3 separate regions of the Homo sapiens genome follow, and regions 1 and 3 are each linked to region 2. Evidence: promoter capture Hi-C in human tissues and cell types (Jung and others, 2019). All regions are on one chromosome and are shown on one strand. Each heading gives the region's core, a stretch centred on a gene start or on the middle of the fragment in contact. The rest is flanking DNA. Distances are from core to core; before and after follow the strand shown. Region 1 overlaps UTP4 (UTP4 small subunit processome component). Region 2 holds the start of PDF (peptide deformylase, mitochondrial). Region 3 has its middle 9.3 kb from the start of SNTB2.

Evidence for each region. The method cuts DNA at HindIII sites, captures the fragments that hold promoters and counts their contacts. A contact is called where the count stands out against the background at its distance.
Region 1: a fragment that was not itself captured here is called in contact with the fragment with the promoter of PDF in region 2 in 2 of the 25 tissues and cell types used here (IMR-90 fibroblasts and lymphoblastoid cells).
Region 3: a contact is called between a fragment that was not itself captured here and the fragment with the promoter of PDF in region 2, in 1 of the 25 tissues and cell types used here (thymus).

What each region holds. Positions count from the first base shown.
Region 1 is chr16:69,151,538-69,154,539 of GRCh38, reverse strand. It overlaps UTP4 (UTP4 small subunit processome component), which reads right to left. Exons shown (of 17, transcript NM_032830.3): 9 at 860-956; 10 at 83-147. Among named protein-coding and RNA genes, the nearest start is that of UTP4, 20 kb to the right of the region's middle. The HindIII fragment of the contact is 8,255 bases long and covers 1-3,002 here.
Region 2 is chr16:69,329,191-69,332,032 of GRCh38, reverse strand. It overlaps PDF (peptide deformylase, mitochondrial), which reads left to right and starts at 1,445. Exons shown (of 2, transcript NM_022341.2): 1 at 1,445-2,036. The coding sequence starts at 1,463. It overlaps COG8 (component of oligomeric golgi complex 8), which reads left to right. Exons shown (of 6, transcript NM_032382.5): 5 at 938-1,220. The coding sequence ends at 1,194. RefSeq lists enhancers at 136-783, 1,432-2,079 and silencers at 1,008-1,397, 1,428-1,807. The HindIII fragment of the contact is 3,727 bases long and covers 751-2,842 here.
Region 3 is chr16:69,176,340-69,179,458 of GRCh38, reverse strand. No RefSeq gene overlaps it. Among named protein-coding and RNA genes, the nearest start is that of SNTB2, 9.3 kb to the left of the region's middle. The HindIII fragment of the contact is 6,249 bases long and covers 1-3,119 here.

The DNA.
Region 1 (3,002 bases), core at 395-2,894, 180 kb after region 2:
TAAGTAACCTCAAAATTCAGAATGGGAATTATGAGCCTAGAATTCAGGCTCTAGAATTCAGAGCCTAAACAAACTTCCTTACCTTTGTCTTTAGGTGCAGTAAATGATCTGCATTTTTAGAGAGTGGAAGAGTATCCCCATTCTTGCCTGAAACAAGAAACTTCCCTGAGATTTTTCTTATGAAAGAAAGAGTATTTGTACATTTTTCTTCTAAAAAGTTACTCCTTGGAAAAATGGAATCTCTATCAGTGGGAAATCAGAAAAATACAAGCTCACTGAGTAAGCTCACAATTTTTGAGGGGTATATGAAGAGAAAGCAGTGAGTACTTCTTTTGCTTCTATCCTCTGATACATCACTAATTCCCTGAAGCTCTAGTCCATAGCCAGGGACACAGGTGGAGTTTGTGTGGCCTCGATTTTAATCCACTGCAAATGAGAGGACTCAAACATTTCCTTAATAAGTCAAAAAGGCCACTAGGCTGTCACTCCAATAAGATCCATGTGATCTTCTTTTTCTACAGGATTATCATTACCCATCATTAAATCTTGTTGTTTTTCAACAGCCTGTTTTCACCTCAGTTAAGCTAGCGCAAACTACGATTCTTCAACCCTTACCTTGACTACACCCTGCAGCGCACCACCTAGAGCCATAAACTTTTAAGAGATGATCCAATATCCTGCTAAAGATTCTAATACTCTAAACAGCTTATTTGCTTTATCTAATGGGTGGGAAAACCATTAGTTAAAATGGACACAAAAGTCTACTTCAGTTTTTCTATAAGCAGAATTCCAACCGCAATTCTGATTTCTGGCTTCTCTCTCCAGTTTTCTTATTGAAAAAAACGTGCTCCCATCTTACCTGTTGCAACTGTGGATCCCAGTCGCCAAAGTTCTAAGTGATGAGCAAACTGGAAGAGGAGAAGCTGCCTCTTTTTAGAACAGGAGATGAGACATCGCTATATCCAAGAATCAAGAAGTTAAAAAAATAAGTCAGGGTCATCTACTGCCTTAGTACCAGATACAGTAGCACCACCTTAGCACATTTTTTACTGCTGAAATCCATTTCCTTGATAAATATTTCCTAAGTACTCCCATATGCCAGGCACTGCCCTGAGATCTATGAAGACGATGATGAATTAAAACATAGCTACTGCTCTCAACATGCTTCTAAAGGGGTGACACAGAATTAAATCAGCAATTAGACTTCAGTGTGCCAAGAATTTTAACACGGCTAAACACAGTATGTACTGAAAAATAAGGAGACAGGACATCTAACCTAGCTGTGTGGTGGTAAATACAGAAGCCCAGATGAGGTTCACTGGGAAAGACCAGTCAGGCGAAGGAGGCAGGGCAGAACATTCTGAGGAGGGTGATGGCATGTGACATAGCTCAAAGGTAAGAGTATTTGAGGGAACAAAAAGACCTTGAGAATGGCTAGCCTGGGTGGGGGTGCTACAAGCACGAGAGGTGCAAAAAGAAGCTGAAGGGCCAGGCCTGGATGGAGACAGGTTCTATAAGACACACTAAGGAAACTGTCTTTATGCTGAAGCCAACAGGGATAACCAGAGGCTTTGAAGCATGGAGTGATGAACAAAGGTGCTTTAAAACAGATCAATGGGCCTGGAGCAGTGGCTCATGCCTGTAATGCCAGCAATCGAGAGGCTGAGGTGCGAGGATTGCTTGAGACCAGGAGTTTGAGACTGGCCTGGGCAAGATAGTGAGATCTTGCCTCTATTAAAAAAAATAAAAAATAAAAAAATTAGCCGAGGCCGGGCACAGTGGCTCATGCCTGTAATCCCAGCACTTTGGGAGGCCAAGGCAGGTGGATCACCTGAGGTCAGGAGTTCAAGACCAGCCTGGCCAACATGGTGAAACCCTGTCTCTACTAAAAATACAAAAAAAATTACCTAGGCGTGGTGGCGGGTGCCTGTAATCCCAGCTACTAGGGAGGCTGAGGCAGGAGAATCGCTTGAACCCAGGAGACTGAGGTTGCAGTGAGCCGAGATTTCACTACTACACTCCAGCCTGGGCAACAAGAGCAAAGCTCTGTCTCAAAAAAAAAAAAAAAAAAAAAAGAAAAACAGAAATTAGCTGAGCCTGGTGGCGCATGCCTGCAGCTCCAGCAACTCGGGAGGCTGATGTGGGAGGACTGCTTGAGCTCAAGAAGCAGAGGTTACAGTGAGCCAAGATTACACCACTGCAGTGCAGCCTGGGTGACGGAGCAAGACCTTGTCTCAAAAAAACAAAAACAAATAAAATAAAATAAGATCAATGAAGAATAGGCTAGAATGACACAAATGCAAATAAAAGGACATGATTAAGAAGCTACTGTAAAGGAACCCAGATGAGAAAAGACACTGATCCAAACTAGGATGATGCCAGCGTAGACAAAGAGAAATGAATGACTCGATTCAAGAGATTATGAGGACTATGTTCAACCTCATCAAACCATATGCATTAAATATGTATGATTTTTAATATATCAAGTATGCCTCAATAGAGCTGTTGATCTATCTATCTATCTATCTATATCTATAACATATGTATAAAGATACTGATGAGTAGACTCAATGAGGTTTACTGCTTGAATGAATGGGGCAGCAGGTGTGGGGAGCAAGTTTTCTAGCTTGGGAAGATGGTACCATTTACCTAGAACACTGGAAGCCTGGGTTTTCCCGCTCCCACCCAGAATAGAGCCTACCCTGAAAGACAAACTAACAAAATTCCCATAACCCACAACTATTTGGAAAAGGGAAAAATTTCCCCAGAAACTGAACTAGGTGTGCTGCTGCATATCTCCTGCCCCCATAAATGTCTTTGCAGTGGCTTGCCTCAAAAACAGAAGGAATGAAGAAGGTAGCTACAGAAAGTCCTACAATATCTCCATGTCCCAGATGGTTAAAAAAAAAAAAAAGGCAGGGGCTGGGCACAGTGGCTCACGCCTGTAAGCCCAGCACTTTGGGAGGCCGAGGCGGGCGTATCACGAAGTCAGGAGATCAAGA
Region 2 (2,842 bases), core at 196-2,695:
TTTGTGGTAGGAGAGGGGCTTGGTTGAGGCACAGCTTCCCAAAGGGCAATGGGTCAGTGCATCACACGTGCAAAGCCTGGCTGCCCTCTGCTTTTTCCCTGGTGCTGCCTGAGGTCTGGGTTCCTGCTGCAGGCACCCTACACTGCTGTTCCGTTACGTTCTGCTTCACAGTATAGCTTCCCATTCCCTGTAACAAAGGTGGTTTTTGCTGTATTAAAACATAGTAATTGATGGCTGGGCGCAGTGGCTCATGCCTGTAATCCCAGCACTTTGGGAGGCCGAGGCGGATGGATCACCTGAGGTTGGGAGTTTGAGACCAGCCTGGCCAACATAGTAACTCCGTCTCTACTAAAAATACAAAAATTAGCCTGGCATGGTGGCGGGCGCCTGTAATCCCAGCTACCACGGAGGCTGAGGCATGAGAACTGTTTGAACCTGGGAGGCAGAGGTTGCAGTGAGCAGCAATCACGCCACTGCACTCCAGCCTGGGCGACAGAGCGAGACTGTCTCAAAAAAAAAAATAGTAATGGCTCGTTTTTTTTCCCTTAAATTTCCTTTTTTTTTTTTTTTTTTTTTTTTGAGACGGAGTTTTGCTCTTGTGGCCCAGGCTGGAGTGCAATGGCGCGATCTCGGCTAACTGCAATCTCCACCTCCTAGGTTCAAGCGATTCTCCTGCCTTAGCCTTCCCAAGTAGCTGGGATTACAGGCCTGCGCCACCAAGCCCGGCTAATGTTGTATTTTTAAGAGAGATGGGATTTCTCCGTGTGGGTCAGGCTGGTCTCGAATTCCTGACCTCAGGTGATCCGCCCCCCCCTCCCCGGCCTCCCAAAGTGCTGGGATTACAGGCGTGAGCCACCGCGCCCGGCCTCCCTTAAATTTCTATATTGAGTTTTATTAGTAACTGTTTTCCATTTTGCTTTCCCCACGTCTGGGTTAGGCATTCCTCCCACTCAGCTCTCCAAGTACGGTAACCTAGGGCATGTGAACATCGGCGCCATTCAGGAGCCCCTCGCCTTTATCCTGCCAAAGAGAGAGACGCTTTTCACCCTGGATGACCAGGCGCTGGGGCCCGAGCTCACAGCTCCAGCACCAGAGCCTCCCGCCGAGGAGCCACGCCTGGAGCCCGCGGGCCCAGCCTGCCCGGAGGGAGGGCGAGCGGAGACGCAGGCCGAACCGCCCAGCGTGGGGCCCTAGCCGGCGTCCCCTGCCTCCAGAACGCGGTGCGTGAGGTTCCCGGCGCGGGGTGGCCAGGACTGCCTCGCCCTGGAAGGTCCGGGGCGGGTTCGGGAGGCGGGAAGGCGCTCCCGGGAGGAGAGCGGAAGGGGGCGGTGCTCACTGCCAGTCTAAGCAGGAAGGCGGGGATCCAGTCGCGGCTTCGCTGTGTGCTGGCCGACGGCGCTTCCCGGCGTGCCCCGCGCTGCGGCCGGAAGGGGCGGGCCGGGTCACTGTTAAGGGGGCCGCCATGGCCCGGCTGTGGGGCGCGCTGAGTCTTTGGCCACTGTGGGCGGCCGTGCCGTGGGGCGGGGCGGCAGCCGTCGGTGTCCGGGCTTGCAGCTCCACGGCCGCCCCGGACGGCGTCGAGGGCCCGGCGCTGCGGCGCTCCTATTGGCGCCACCTGAGGCGTCTGGTGCTGGGTCCTCCCGAACCGCCGTTCTCGCACGTGTGCCAAGTCGGGGACCCGGTGCTGCGCGGCGTGGCGGCCCCGGTGGAGCGGGCGCAGCTAGGCGGGCCCGAGCTGCAGCGGCTGACGCAACGGCTGGTCCAGGTGATGCGGCGGCGGCGCTGCGTGGGCCTAAGCGCGCCGCAGCTGGGGGTGCCGCGGCAGGTGCTGGCGCTGGAGCTCCCCGAGGCGCTGTGTCGGGAGTGCCCGCCCCGCCAGCGCGCGCTCCGCCAAATGGAGCCCTTCCCCCTGCGCGTGTTCGTGAACCCCAGCCTGCGAGTGCTTGACAGCCGCCTGGTCACCTTTCCCGAGGGCTGCGAGAGCGTCGCCGGCTTCCTGGCCTGCGTGCCCCGCTTCCAGGCGGTGCAGATCTCAGGTGCGGGCGGCGGGGACCGGGGCTGCTGGAGCAGCGCGCGCGTCTCTTCTGCCCGACTCCGCGAGAGCGCAGAAGTGGTCGCGGTTCATACGCCGGACCTCCCGCAGGAGCGAAGTGGGATGCGGGAGCGGAGAGGCCTCAGGACGGATAGAAGCTCCTGTGGGGTAGAGCCCGCTCAGATAGGACGCAGGGGCGAGGAGAGGTCCCCTAGTTCCGCTGTTACCTGACAGCCTGGCGTCTGCTTTCTGCTCCCTTGCTCTCTGAGGCAAACACGCTCTTCGGCCCCAGTTAGATCCGCCACGGTGGAGTTGGAGAAGTGGGGGTTAGCCCCCGCCAGCCTGACCCAGCCCAGGGGGCTAGGCCATTCCCCCGTGGTACCACAGGATGCCTCGCGGAATGCGGGCTCTGCTGGGGTCGGGGTGATTGTTCCTGCACAGCAAGCCCGTCGGTTCAAGATGGTCAGAAAAACAAGTGGGGTCTCAAGCTGCAGAACCTCTGTTAGGAGTTGGGAGCCCACAGGTACCTCAGAAGTGGGAGGAGTGTTCGGAAGGGTCGCACCGTAGAAAGATGATTTCTCATCTCAGCTCTACAGTGAGCTCGATAACCTAATTACCAGAGTTGGGAACCAGGTTGAACGCTTGGTAATGGACCGAGATGAGGGACGTTTTCCAGTTAGAAGAGGAGCTGCTGTCTACATTTGCCATCTGCTGTTGCCTCTTGTCAATGGGAACAGCCAGGACCGGGGGCAGGGGTAGGGAGGTTGAGGATGATGCAGTTCAGCTGTTCCCACTCACCAGGGCTGTAAC
Region 3 (3,119 bases), core at 489-2,988, 150 kb after region 2:
ACTAACCATCTGAAACCCGCAAAAATGGACTAACGATCTCATACAGCATGACTATGAAAACCCACATCTGCTAACCACATTCCTAATAAGCAGCAGCTGGTGACAGTTTTGTAGCACTGTGACTTTTTAAAGGAAAATATTAGCAAGGACACACTAAATAGAAGTTTAGTTTCATTGAATCCACTTAGTTACGGAAAATCACCAGTGTTTTCTTTTTTCTTTTTTTTATTGACAATCATGGAAATTACATAATTTGTCATGAAATTCAAATAATATCTAAAAATAAAAGTCAGCCCAGCACGGTGGCTCACGCCTGTAATCCTAGCACTTTGGGAGGCCGAGGTGGGTGGATCATTTGAGGTCAGGGGTTCGAGACCAGCCTGGTCAACGTGGTGAAACCCTGTCTCCACTAAAAATACAAAAATTAGCCAGCCATGGTGGCAGGCACCTGTAATCCCAGCTACTTGGGAAGCTGAGGCAGGAGAATCGCTTGAACCCGGGAGGCGGAGGTTGCAGTGGGCCATGATCGTGCCACTGCACTCAAGCCTGGGTGACAAAGCGAGACTGTCTCAAAAAAAATAAAAAAATAAAAATTAAATTAAAAGTCTACTTTCCCCCTTCACCAGTTCTTTTTTTTTTTTTTTTTTTTTTTTTTTTTTTTTTTGAGATGGAGTCTCGCTGTGTCGCCCAGACTGGAGTGCAGCGGCCTGATCTCAGCTCACTGCAAGCTCCGCCTCCTGGGTTCATGCCATTCTCCTGTCTCAGCCTCCCGAGTAGCTGGGACTACAGGCACCTGCCCCCACGCCCGGCTAATTTTTTTATTTTTAGTAGAGACGGGGTTTCATCGTGTTAGCCAGGATGGTCTCGATCTCCTGACCTCGTGATGCGCCCGCCTTGGCCTCCCAAAGTGCTGGGATTACAGGCGTGAGCTACCGTGCCCGGCCTCTTTTTTTTTTTTTTTGAGATGAAGTTTCCCTCTTGTTGCCCAGACTGGAGTGCAATGGCACCATCTCGGCTCACTGCAACCTCCGCTTCCTGGGTTCAAGCAATTCTCCTGCCTTAGCCTCCCGAGTAGCTGAGATTACAAATGCCTGCCATCATGCCCAGCTAATTTTTGTATTTTTAGTAGAGACGGGGTTTTACCATGTTGGCCAGGCTGGTCTCGAATTCCTGACCTCAGGCGATACGGCTGCCTTGGCCTCCCACAGTGCTGGGATTACAGGTGTGAGCCACCACACCCAGCCTGGAGATTGAATCTTTAAAGAGGTAACTGAGTTAAAATGAGGTCACTGGGGTGGGCCCTAATCCAGTTTGACTGTTTTCCTTATAAGAAGAGATGAGGGCAGAGATACATGCATGGAGGGAAGACCATGGGAAGATGAAGGGAGAAGATGGTCATTTACAAGGCAAGGAGAGAGGCCTCAGAAGAAACCAATCCAGCCTGGCGTGGTGGCTCATGCCTGTAACCACAGCACATCAGGAGGCAGGAGGATCACTTGAGTCCAGGAGTTCGACACCAGCCTGGGCAATATAGCAAGACCTCGTCTCTACCAAAAAACAAAAAGCTAAAAAACAAGGCCAGGCACGATGGCTCACATCTGTAATCTCAGCATTTTGGGAGGCTGAGGCTGGCAGATCACTTGAGGTCAAGAGTTCAAGACCAGCCTGGCCAACATGGTAAAACTCCATCTCTACTAAAAATACAAAAATTAGCTGGGCATGGTGTTGCATGGTTGTAATCCCAGCTACTCAGGAGGCTGAGGTAGGAGAATCACTTGAACCTGGAAGGCGGAGGTTGCAGTGATCCAAGATTGCTCCACTGCACTCCAGCCTGGGCAACAGAGTGAGACTCTGTCTCAAAACAACCACCACCACCAAAAACAAACAAACAAACAAACAAACAAAAAATCCTGCTGACACCTTGATCTCAATCTCAGACCTTTAGCCTCCAGAACTATGAGAAAATAAATTTCTGGTCTGGCACAGTGGCTCACGCCTATAATCCCAGCACTTTGGGAGGCCAAGGCAGGTGGATTGCTTGAGTTCAGGAGTTCTAGACCAGCCTGGGCAACATAGTGAGACCCCATCTCTACAAAAAAATAGATCCTTGATTAAAAAAAAAAAAAAAAAAGAAAAAGGCCAGGTGCGGTGGCTCGTGCCTGTAATCCCAACACTTTGGGAGGCCGAGACGGGTGGATCACTTGAGATCAGGAGTTTGAGACCAGCCTGACCAACATGGTGAAACCCCATCTCTACTAAAAATACAAAAATTAGCTGGATGTGGTAGCACACACTTATTACCCCAGCTACTTGGGAGGCTGAGGCAGGAGAAGTGCTTGAACCCTAGAGGCAGAGGCTGCAGTGAGCTGAGATCGTGCCACTGCACTCCAGCCTGGGCATCAGAGTGAGACTCTATTCCAAAAAAAAAAAAGAAAGAAAAAGAAAAAATGACAGTTTGGGCTATTAAAAAAAAAAATTAGCCAGGTGTAGTGGCGCACACCTGTAGTTCTAGCTACTCAGGATGCTGAGGCCGGAGGATTGCTTGAGCCCAGGGGTTAAGGCTGCAATGAGTCAAGATTGAGCAACTGCAATCCAGCCTGGGCAACAGAGCCAGACCCTGTCTCCAAAAAAAAAAAAAGAAGTTATGTTGTTGAAGCCATCCCAATAGTGCTTTGTTATGGCAGCCCTAACATAGACCCCCCGTCACCTACACAACAGCCTGTTTTTTGCCTCCCTAACTTCCAGTCTCTTCTGCCCCTTACACAAATGGGCATTTTTACTGTCATTCCATTGAATGTGTGAGTGACTCACAGCTGTGTTTTCCACTGAATGAAAATTCTGGACCACAGACTGGAAGGCCCACCCCAACTGGTCTTATTTCTCACTACATGTTGGCTCAAGGACTCTGTATCCAAAACAACTTGTCTTTTCCACATACTTTCCTAAACTGCTTAGCTTCCTTCTGTGGAAACCACTCTATTGTGTGTGTGGTGTGTGTGTGTGTGTGTGTGTCTGTGTGTCAGGGTCTTGCTCTGTTCTCAGGCTGGAATGCAATGGTGTGGTCCCAGGTCACTGCAGCCTCAACCTCCCAGGCTCAAGCAAGTCTCCCACCTCAGCCT